Regions from separate parts of the Homo sapiens genome. Here region 1 is linked to region 2. The links are contacts of gene promoters, found by promoter capture Hi-C in blood cells and fetal thymus (Javierre and others, 2016). All regions are on one chromosome and are shown on one strand. The core of a region is centred on a gene start or on the middle of the fragment in contact, and the rest is flanking DNA. Distances in the headings are between cores, read along the strand shown. Region 1 overlaps CATSPERG (catsper channel auxiliary subunit gamma). Region 2 holds the start of SIRT2 (sirtuin 2).

Evidence for each region. Contacts are between HindIII fragments. The CHiCAGO score rates a contact against its expected background, and 5 or more counts as called.
Region 1: a fragment that was not itself captured here is called in contact with the fragment with the promoter of SIRT2 in region 2 in 1 of 17 cell types (non-activated CD4 T cells); the score reaches 5.4 in non-activated CD4 T cells.

The regions. Positions count from the first base shown.
Region 1 is chr19:38,342,186-38,344,979 of GRCh38, forward strand. It overlaps CATSPERG (catsper channel auxiliary subunit gamma), which reads left to right. Exons shown (of 29, transcript NM_021185.5): 4 at 1,395-1,539; 5 at 1,808-1,934; 6 at 2,111-2,183. Among named protein-coding and RNA genes, the nearest start is that of CATSPERG, 7.8 kb to the left of the region's middle. RefSeq lists an enhancer at 1,160-2,109. The HindIII fragment of the contact is 5,142 bases long and covers 1-2,794 here.
Region 2 is chr19:38,898,255-38,900,954 of GRCh38, forward strand. SIRT2 (sirtuin 2) reads right to left here and starts at 1,364. Exons shown (of 16, transcript NM_012237.4): 1 at 1,252-1,364; 2 at 125-171. The coding sequence starts at 1,267. NFKBIB (NFKB inhibitor beta) reads left to right here and starts at 1,715. Exons shown (of 6, transcript NM_002503.5): 1 at 1,715-1,957. The coding sequence starts at 1,779. The HindIII fragment of the contact is 23,515 bases long and covers 1-2,700 here.

The DNA.
Region 1 (2,794 bases), core at 138-2,637, 560 kb before region 2:
GCCAACATAGCAAGACCCTGTCCCATGTAAAAAATAAATAAATAAATAAATAAATAAATAAATTACAGAAATAGCCAGCCTGGGCAACAGAGTAGACTCTGTCTCTACAAAAATTAAACAGTTTTCAAAGAAAGAATGGCCTGGTGGCTCATGCCTGTAATCCCAGCACTTTGGGAGGCCGAAGCGCGCAGATCAGTTGAGGTCAGGAGTTTGAGACCAGGCTGGCCAACGTGGTGAAACCTCATCTTTACTAAAAATACAAAAATTAGCTGGGCATGGTGGTGCACGTGTGTAGTCCCAGCTACTCAGGAGGCTGAGGCAGGAGAATCACTTGAACCCAGGAGACAGAGGCTGCAGTGAGTCGAGATCATGCCACTGCACTGTAGCCTGGGCGACAGAGTGAGACTCCTTCTTGAAAAAAAAAAAAAAAAGGAAAAGAAAGGAGCCTGGCAAAGAAAGTAAAGAAAGTCAGCCCTCTCGATGAAGGGCTGTGCACAGGTGCTGAATCTGGTAAATCCCTCGCCCTGGTCCCACAGCAACCAAGGCCTCCCCTTGGTGGCCTGAGTGCCGCCTTCTCTCGGGGACGCCTCTTAGCCTTCACTGGTGCTGTTCTGCATGCCTGAAACATCCTTCTCCTCTTCTCCCATCTCCACTCTAAGCGCTCCCCACCCTTTTCTATTCAGCCAGGATCCCGCATCCCTGGGAGGTTGTCCAGGCATGCCCTGTCACCCTCGTCCTCAGTCCCTTCCTGTGTAATCGCCCCATCCTACACTCACCCCAAGCTCAAGGCCCAGAACTTGGCTGTCCTCTGACTTGCATAGGTGGCAGAAAGTCTGCTGCAGAGAGGGTGGAAGCCCACCTCAAGAGTGAGACTGGGGGCCAGATGAGATGGCTCACGCCTTTAATGCCAGCACTTTGGGAGGCCAAGGTGGGAGGCTCACTTGAGACCAGGAGTTCAAGACCAGCCTGGGCAATCTAATTTTTTTTTTTTAAGCCTGGAACTGGGAATCCCTGGAGTGGAAAGCAGCACCCTGGGTGCCACATCCCTCCCACCTTCCCAGCATCCCTCCCACCTGCACAGTTTTGTTCATCCCATGCTGCCCTTCCCTATGTATTCCCTACATGCACATTCTGTCTGCAGACACTGGCTCTGGAGTCATCTCCTCCAGGAAGGCCTCCGACTCCCTCCACAGCCCCTTACCCCTCTGCCCCCTCCTAGGCTGTTCCATCCCCCATCCAAGCCCCAAACCTAGACCATGTCCTCTGACCATCACATGGTGGACAGTGTGCTGCCCCCGGACAGCCCAGGAGACAGACTGTTAGAGGCGGGCTTAAGGCAGGGGGCACCCAGAGGCTACCATAAGGACACACTTGTGGGGCCATCTCACCCTCAGCCCTCTGAGGACCTGGTGCGCATGGGCCACCTGACGGGGCTAAAGCCCCTGGTGCTGGTCACCTTCCAGTCCCCAGTCAACTTCTACCGCTGGAAGATAGAGCAGCTGCAGATCCAGATGGAGGCTGCCCCCTTCCGCAGCAAAGGTGGGCCTGGGGGAGGCGGGAGGGATCGCAACCTGGCAGGGGTGTGGGGTTTGCTGGGGGCCTCTGTGGGGCCATGATCTGAGGAGGGTATGTGGGGGGCGGGAGCTCAGCACATTCCATGGCCTAGAGGGGCCACACAGAGGCCCCAGTGGGACCCATGGCGTGGAGGCAGGTATGGGGAGTTGTGGGGAGATCCCAGGGTGGTCTGGGGCCTGGAACCGGCCATTGGGAGGCCCCAGCAGTTTCAGTGCCCAGGGCCTCCCTGCAGAGCCATGCATGGCAGAAGAAGTGTGTAGCATGAGCTGGTACACGCCCATGCCCATCAAGAAAGGCAGTGTGGTCATGCGTGTGGACATCAGCAGCAATGGCCTGGGGACCTTCATTCCAGATAAAAGGTACCCTTTCCCAAGACGGGGGCTGGGGTGGACTCCGGGGGAATTCCTCACCCCAGGGTCCCCAGAGGAGCCAGTGGGAGATCCAAGGGAGAGAATGGGGAGAGGAGAGGCAGCTACGAGCTGTGGAACCCCTGACACTGGGACCTCACCTGCGCCTATTCTGCACCTGCTGCTAGGTTCCAGATGAATATCAACGGCTTCCTGAAGAGAGACCGGGACAATAACATCCAATTCACTGTGGGAGAGGAGGTGAGGGAATATGGCAGGGGAAAAAGACAATGGTCTGGGCCTTAGGCTGACGCCCTGGTTACTTCCCAGACAAGCAGCAGATCCCATTTAGGGAGCACCAACTTCATGCCAGGCCCCACATGAAGATCCCATTAATCTCCCCAGTGACCTGTCGAGGGGACGTACTCTCACATACTCCATTATAAAGAGGAGAAAACTGAGGTCCCAAAGGGATGGAACCATTTTCCCATAGTCCCTCAGCATGGAGGGAGTCTTGAAGTTATCTGTCTGACTCCTATACACACCTGTACATCCATACCTGTACATACATATATAGTACATACCTGTACATACATATATAGTACATACCTGTACATACATATATAGTACATACCTGTACATACATATATAGTACATACCTGTACATACATATATAGTACATACCTGTACATACATATATAGTACATACCTGTACATACATATATATGTATATACCTGTACATGAACAGACACACACACACACACACACACACACATATATATATATATATATATTTTTTTTTTTTTTTTTTTTTTTGAGACGGGGCCTCGCTCTGTCATCCAGGCTGGAGTGCAGTGGTGCAATCATGGCT
Region 2 (2,700 bases), core at 114-2,613:
TGAGGGATTGGGGCAATGAGCCGAGGGCCCTGGGGTGACTGTTTCCCCTTTGCCACCTCCCCCCAGTGTGGGATGTGGAACAAGTCCGTCTCTCTCCTCCCCTCCACCCTTTCCCCCATCTCACCTGAGCCTCCTGCACCTTCCCTGCCTGGGTCTCCAGAGGGTGAGAGGCTGGGGGAGGGGAGCAGAGGTGGTTACAGTGGGGAGAACGATTAAGGGGGGAATAAAGGGGTTCAAATGGTCAGTGAGGGGGCAAGAACACCCACCAACCTAGTTACACTGGGATGGGATGGTGGTAAAAATGGAGCAGAGGGAGGGAGGGGACGGAGAAAAGATCTTATCTACATGCAAAGTGATGCCGGGAGAGGTGATTAGTGAGGGGCAGAGAGGCTGGAGAGGAAGATTTAGGGGGACAGGGAGAAAGTAGGGGCTTTTGCCCAGGCTGGTCTTGAACTCCTGGGCTCAAGCGATCCAACCACCTTGGCCTCCCAAAGTACTGGGATTACAAGCATGAGCCATTGTTTCTGGCCCTGACTTACTTTCTTTCTTTTTTACTTTTTAGAGAAAGGGTCTCGCTCATGTCACCCAGGTTGGAGTGCAATAGTGCGATCATAGCTCACTGCAGCCTCAAATTCCTGGGCTCAAGCGATCCTCCTCCTCCTACCTAGGGGATTCAGGGCATGAAGGAACACTCAGGAGGAGTTAGGAAGGACACGACAGTGTGTGAGTGTGTGTGCGGGGAGGGTTAGATTTACAAGGCAGAGGGAAGTTTAGAAAGGAAAAGAGAAGGGAAGAGACGCTTTGGCTGGGAGGCAGGTTTAGGAGGGAGGTGCAGTGGTGCAGTGGAGGCGGTAGGTTTAGGAGAGGCGCGGAACAAGGGGAAGCCATAGGAGGGGTCAGCAGGGGTCCCTCAGCATCCTCTGGTTGCCTCTAACAATCAGGTACCCATAGCAAGCGGGACCGGGGCAACTTATGTTCTTTGCAGCGAGGGACCTTAGCAACCAAGGTGCGAGAAACACGCGATCATTGGCAACTTGGCAAGTGGATGTGGTAAACGAACCCTGAACACACTGCGACCCAGAAACCCACCAGCCTAGCGATACAGATCGCTAAGCAACAGCCCTCAGAATCCCACTCCCCGAAGCGCTCCCTACTTCCCGCCCCACCGCGGCCACCCTTGGGCCCCGGGGCCTGCAGCATTCAGCCAGGCCCCGGCGCGGCCCGACCCTCCTACCCGGATCCCCGACTCACGGTCTGGCTCTGCCATGGGCGCGGTGCTGAAGCCCTTGAGGCTGTCACCGACCGCTCTGTCCCGTCACCAACCACTGTGTCCCGTCACCGACTGCTCTGTCCTGTCACCGACTGCTCTGTCCCGTGACGGCACCAGAAATGGGAGTGGCCGTGATAGGGCACAGAACTACAACTCTCAGCAGACATTGCGGCCGCAGACGCGCTTTCGTACAACACCCAGAGCGCCCCAGTTAGGTAAGAAAGCGCGCGAGGACCGGACTACGAGTCCCAGAAGGCGTGGCGTCAGCAGCCATGTTGGTAAAGGGCGCCCGGAAAATGTGGGAACGGCTAGAGAGTTGTAGTCCTCCCGAATACTCTGATTGGTCAGGATGCAGTACGAGGGCGGGGTGTGAGCGATTCAGCATATTATCATTGGGTGAATCAGGGGGCGTGGTGGGGAATTTCCCGCAGGGCGGAAGCTCCAGAACTCCCGGCAAAGCCCAGCTACAGGCGGGCGACTGCGGGGGGCCCCTGAGGCGGCGGGGGCCATGGCTGGGGTCGCGTGCTTGGGAAAAGCTGCCGACGCAGATGAATGGTGCGACAGCGGCCTGGGCTCCCTGGGTCCGGACGCAGCGGCCCCCGGAGGACCTGGGTTGGGCGCGGAGTTGGGCCCGGGGCTGTCGTGGGCTCCCCTCGTCTTCGGCTACGTCACTGAGGATGGGGACACGTGAGTGAACCTTAGGCTGCCAAACGGAGCCCTAGGACCCGGCGTCACATTCCTCATTAATCTCTGATCCCTGAGGCTTCCTAACCTCATACTCCTAAATCTGACTTCCGATGCTGAACTTCCTGACCTCTAACCCCCGAGTCCTAACTTTTAACAAAACCAATCTTCTATCTAGCTATGATCCTAACCCAATCATTTCTTACCTTCTTTTCTTGAACTATGATTCTCAGCTCCTGGAATCCACATTGTATCCACTGATACCCAAACCTGACTCCAGTCCTGAGACTTCTGTTAGAACTGTGGCTTCTCCTGACTTCTAACCTCCAAATATGATCTTTGATTCTTAGTTCCCGATTTGAGCCCTAGAGTTTGATTTCCGAAATTAATACTTGGTCCCTGACTCTAAGATCCTGTCTTCTGAGCAGTGTTCTTCAAATCTTAAATTCAAAGAGAGAGAATGTAAGCTCTTCTATGTTGAATTCCTAATTAAAGTAAAAAAATAGGAAAATTAAAAAAAAGAATGTTAGCTCCATGAGACCAAGGATTCATCTGTTAAACAAATATTCTTTACACATTACCACGTTCCAGGCTCCGTTTAGGTGCTAGTGATAAAGGCAGTGAAGAAAACAAACAAAAACTTAAGCCCTTGTGGAGCATACATTTTAGTGGAGCTAAATAAACAGATTGATAAGACCACAAGGAAGGAAAGAAATGGAAAGACAGGAAGAAACAAAGAAAGACAC